Linked DNA regions of Homo sapiens: region 2 is linked to region 1. The links are contacts of gene promoters, found by promoter capture Hi-C in blood cells and fetal thymus (Javierre and others, 2016). All regions are on one chromosome and are shown on one strand. The core of a region is centred on a gene start or on the middle of the fragment in contact, and the rest is flanking DNA. Distances in the headings are between cores, read along the strand shown.

What was found. Contacts are between HindIII fragments. The CHiCAGO score rates a contact against its expected background, and 5 or more counts as called.
Region 2: a contact is called between a fragment that was not itself captured here and the fragment with the promoter of LINC02521 in region 1, in 5 of 17 cell types (activated CD4 T cells, total CD4 T cells, naive CD4 T cells and 2 more). The highest score is 9.1, in activated CD4 T cells.

The regions. Positions count from the first base shown.
Region 1 is chr6:2,633,166-2,635,865 of GRCh38, forward strand. It overlaps LINC02521 (long intergenic non-protein coding RNA 2521), which reads left to right and starts at 1,335. Exons shown (of 3, transcript NR_149119.1): 1 at 1,335-1,590. It overlaps LINC01600 (long intergenic non-protein coding RNA 1600), which reads right to left and starts at 1,438. Exons shown (of 3, transcript NR_131168.1): 1 at 1,400-1,438; 2 at 440-627. The HindIII fragment of the contact is 1,903 bases long and covers 163-2,065 here.
Region 2 is chr6:1,530,104-1,532,803 of GRCh38, forward strand. The region is part of intron 2 of LOC102723944 (a long non-coding RNA gene); the gene reads right to left. Among named protein-coding and RNA genes, the nearest start is that of FOXCUT, 74 kb to the right of the region's middle. The HindIII fragment of the contact is 2,893 bases long and covers 1-2,700 here.

The DNA.
Region 1 (2,700 bases), core at 85-2,584:
ATCAGGCACTGTAGGGGTATTTGGCCCACAGCCATCCTGTCTCAGCAGGGTCCTTTTCATTGAGGGAAGCATTTTTCATATCCATAATTTGCCCCTTTCTCTAACCCAGGGTGCACGCTGCCGTGGCCCTTGGTGACAATGTCCCCTGTGGCCTTCCTCCAAAGCTTGCTCCAGCAAGCTCTGACATGGTGTCCTCCCTCCCCTTCTGGGCTGCGGCTTCTCCAACCTCCCCCAGCTCCTGCAGACAGAGGAGAAACAGCAAGTCACAAGATAAGACAAAGACCCTCTAGGCCAGGCCACTCCTCGCTGCCACTCTGGGACAGCAAGGCAAAACGCAGACGGCCCCAGCTCTGGACGCCTCTCCTCCTCTGGACCCTAACCCTAACCCTAAGCCACTGGAACACTCACGGGAGAAAGCTGGACCTGCTTTGAGGCTCACCTCCCTGCATGCACATCCATCCGGCTTCTCTCAAGAAGCAACCTGGTGTCTGAGAGCCGTTGAGTCTTCATCCCAGCTCTGGTATTTCTCTCATGTGGCCACATAACCTTGAATGTCTGACCTTCAATTTCTTCATCTGTACAGTGGTGAAGATGATCCCCACTTTGCTAGGTTGTTGTGAGCATTACCTAAAAGAAAATAGGTGCTATGGCGGCATGTTTGTTGAGCTAGGAGGACTCGGAACAAAATTAGCTTCTGCACCGGCTGTGCTGGAGCCAGGCAGGCCGCTCCGGTGTGGCCCTGTTTTTCCTGGTTTGTGTCCCAGGAACCTGCCAACCCTCATTGTCCCGGATTTTCCCTTTGACTCCAAAAGCCGTGTCTTTCTTATCAAGCCTCTTTATTTTTGTTATTATCCCGTCAACATACTCCCCTCTGATTCGCCCCCACTAATGACTCGCGCCCTTTCCAAAGTCCCAGCACACCGCGCTTATAATCTCTTTCAGCTGTCCTTAAAAAGGTTCTATTTGTCCCCTCCGCCCCGCTCAGGGGCGCCCGGACTCTGGGGCCCGGCCTTCGCGGGCTCCCGGGTTCCTCCCATCGCTTCCCTCACAGTCCTGGCCGCAGGGCAGCGGGTTTCGCACGGGAGGGAAGGTTTGGATGGCTAACGCCCAGGGTTGGTCTTCCCTGTGTCTTTTATGGGAACACGTTCCTGCCTGCGCCCCACGGGACAGAGCCGTTTTCCCGCCCCGCCACGCCGCGCCCGCAGGCCCCGCTGCCCGCAGCCTCTTCCCGACGCCCCAGGCCGTGCGCCCCCCCGAACCGGGCCCACCGCGTGCTGTGCGGGGCTTCCGCGCCTGCGCACGAACGCTTCTGCGAGCTTTCTCGGAAGCAGCTGGGGGGCGGGGAATCTGCTGAGGAACGGCGCTTTATAAATCAAAAGATAATAATAACAGAGCTTACGGTGAGCACCGGAGGCTGGAAACGGGGTGGCATCCGCTCGGGGCGGGGCGGCGTCGCCAGCGAATGACAACACTGCCCCCTGGTGGCCGATGCGGCCAGGCCCGAGAGAGCGCAGGCCGGGTGCGAGCCAGGCTTCCTCACCACGCGGCTTCCCCACTCATCCCATAGAAACCGTAACTGAGCAAATGACGGTAAGTCCCCAGGAAGCGTTAAGGCCAGGAAGCAGCACAGGAGAAAAACCCGAATCCCATTTTTTTAGAGTAGGGATTTATTTGTTGTCCCCAGATAGCAAGCTGAATTTCTGAATAGTTCAGAGCTCACAAAAGAAGCCAAGACCTTTCAGGGCATTTTATAATGTTGCTTTTTATAAACAAAATATTGAAACCACTACTATCACTGTCACTGGGGGATTACTGTTGAGCAGAAATGCTTGTGAAACTCCCAAAAGAAAGGGTCGTTTGTGCTTCTTTGGCATTAAGTAAAAATGTCCTGTTTGGTGTGTACACGTTTTCATATTTAATTATTCACACTGTGCACTTTATATATAAACTCAGCACTTAGGTTCTCTGTGAGCCAGAAACCTGGCTTCTGTGCTCATCCATAGACCCAGTGAGAGTGTAGAAGCCAAGCCTGGTGGAGCCTGTGTCTACCAGGGCATTGCAGTAAAGCTTCTACCACTCACTGTAAATACCTCCCATCGAGGCTGAGGAAAAGTTGTAGCATACTTGGAAATTGGGGTGGAGTATTGTCATCCAAAAAGGCATATTTCTTTTGGTGTTTTCCATACCCGGCTGTGTCATTGTGAAGCCTCAGCTCTCCCAATCTCCCCATAAACTGGAGGAATCCTAGTGTTTCCTGTCCTGCCACATTATGTGTGGGGAAGATTTTTTTTTTTTTTTTTGAGACAGAGTTTCACTCTTGTTACCCAGGCTGGAGTGCAATGGCGCGACCTTGGCTCACTGCAACCTCTGCTTCCTGGGTTCAAGCGATTCTTCTGCCTCAGCCTCTGGAGTACGGAGCTGGGATTACAGGCACCCGCCACCATGCCCGACTATTTTTTGTATTTTTTAGTAGAGACCGGGTTTCACCATGTTGGCCAGGCTGGTCTCAAACTCCTGACCTCAGGTGATCCACCCGCCTCGGCCTCCCAAAATGCAGAAAGAGTCTTAAGATGGATTTTTAGTAAGTACTTCAAGCGGCTTTATGAAAGCTACCGTCAGTAAAGTAGAAAACTATATATGCACATATTTAGATATGGAGCTCCCACGGAGGAAGTGCTCTGACAGGTCAAATCTGCCCCC
Region 2 (2,700 bases), core at 68-2,567, 1.1 Mb before region 1:
GATTTGAGACCTGTTCTCCTGCCTCCTTGCTTCGTAGCCTCATGGATCAACCCTTTCTTCTTTGCAAAGCCCATTGTCACAGTGATTGGCTTACTGCATGCAGGCAGAATGAGCAGGGAGACAGACCTAATACTGACCCTCCTTGAGTAAGTGGATGACTGCAGAGCTGGGATGGAAATCGAGGCACAGAGAAGGTAACAGCACCAAGATCTGTTCTAACCATCCACCCCAAACAGCTCCCCTGCCCAGAATCCCATGTGACCAAGGGCCCATGTGAACCCACGCAGAGCCCATACGAATAAAACCCTTGACATCAGCTTCTTGGGAACCAACCCGCCACCTCCTGAACCAACCAGCTACCAATTAAGCATTAGTCCCCAGAGCAGGAAGCCTGGGCACCTGCTGCATTCTTGGTGGAACCTCATCAGCCCCTGCAGGGTAATCACGCCATCCCAGGTGGCCTCCTGGGATCAGCAATCAGCGACACTCTGATAATGAAATTACTGGGCCCTGATTGCAACAAACTTCCTTGAAGATCCTGGGCCAGTCTTTCTATCTGGGTATTATGAGAGATAATCAGTTTCATCTGGTTTCGGTTCTTTTAAAACTCCCCCTTTGAAATATTCAGATCATTATCTGTAACCAGCGCCTTGCTTCAGCTTTATACAATTTGTGTTAGAGACTGTTATGTGTTCACCAAACCCCAGACAGCTTTTTAAAGAAATTTTATGCATATATAGTATAGGCATGTACATCGCTTCTATTTTTTTGCATGTGATAGCACAATATTACTTTCTTTTCACTTATTACTATCACTTATTACTTATTATTCACTTTTCACTTATTACCAATATTATTACAATATTACTATCTTTTCACTTAGCACCATGTCTTGGAGTCCTGTCTATATCAGTACATTTAGAACAGTCTTGTTCTTTTTCATGGCTGTGTAGTATCCCCATGTGGATTTACCATAATCTGTTTAACCTGCCACCCACTGATGGGCATTTAAGTTGTTCTCAGACTTCTCCTATTATGAGCAATGTTGCACATTCTTGTGAAATTATATCTGCAAGATATAGTCCTAAAGTGGGATTGCTAGGTCAAAGGGCATGTGCATTTTTATTATGGGTAGGAATTGTCCAATTGTCCTGCACAGATATTGATGCCAGTTCTCACTTAAGTTGACCATGTGTGAATGTGACTGTCTCTCCTTATGCCTATGATATTTTATCACCTGTTTAATCTTTGTTAATCTGATAAATGAAAAAAATCTCATTGAAGTTTTGAGTTGTATTTCTTTTTTTTTTTTTTCTTTTTTTTGAGATGGAGTCTCACTCTGTCACCCAGGCTGGGGTGCAGTGGCACGATCTCCGCTCACTGCAACCTCTGCCTCCCTGGTGTTCAAGCGATTCTCCTGCCTCACCCTCCCGAGTAGCTGGGACTACGGGTGCATGCCACCACACCTGTCTAATTTTTTTGTGTTTTTAGTACAGACCGGGTTTCACTGTGTTAGCCAGGATGGTCTCGATCTCCTAACTTCATGATCCACCTGCGTGGGCCTCCCAAAGTGCTGGGATTACAGGTGTGAGCCACCGCGCCTGGCTGAGTTGTATTTCTTATATTATGAGGTTGAGCATCTTTTGCTAGGCTTTAGAGGCATTGATTCTGCTTGTCTTTCAACTCTCACTTCACCCTCTTTGCCCATGTTTCTACTGGGTTCTTTCCTTACTAATTTGTAAGAACTCTATACATCAAGAGCATTAGAACCCTGTGCAGTCCAAGTTGAAGCATTTCTTTCCCCTTTGACTCAGGTATTTGGGGTATTTTGCTGTTTTGTTTGTTTTCCGCCATGTGGAAGGTTTTTTCTTTTACATACAGTCATCCCACTATGGGTCCACATCTGCAGATTCAACCAACTACAGATGGAAAATATTTGGAAAAGAAACAATTAAAAATAACAACGCAGCAATAAAAAAAATACAAATAAAAAAACTATACAGTATAACCACTATTTACATAGCATTTACATTGTATTAGCTATCATAAGTAACCCAGAGATGATTTAAAGTATACAGTTATATGTACACACTATACCATTTTATATCAGGGACTTTAACATCTGAAGATTTTGGTATCTGTGGGGGTCCTGGACCCAATTCCCCAGATACCGAGGATGAACTGTATTTATTTTCTTTTAGTCTTTTTGCACTTTTGTCATACTTTTAGCACGTATACTAAATTCTAATATGTATTTGAATGTTCTTGAACTTTATAGACTGTTCCATTGAGCTTTCGCTCCACATCAGAAACTCATTGTTTATTATTATAGCTTAATATGTGACTAATATCTGGCACAGATAGTCCCCTTCCCCTATTATTCCTTTTTTCTAGAACTTTCCTGCCTCTGCTTGCTTATGTATCTTCCCATAAGAGCCTTGGCATTAACTCCCTACATCCAAAAATATTATATTGAAATATTTAACCTATAGAAAATCGACCTGTTAATGATATCAAGTGTTATACAATAACATGGTATGTGGGTTTCTTGTTGTTCTGGGGGGTTTTGGTTTATTTGTTTGGTTGGTTGGTTGGTTGGTTTTGGTTTTGGTTTATTATTGTTATTGTTTGTTCTTGGCTAAGTCCTAAGCTAATGACTACAGGGTACAAATTTTGATCCCAGCCAACTTGCTAAAATAT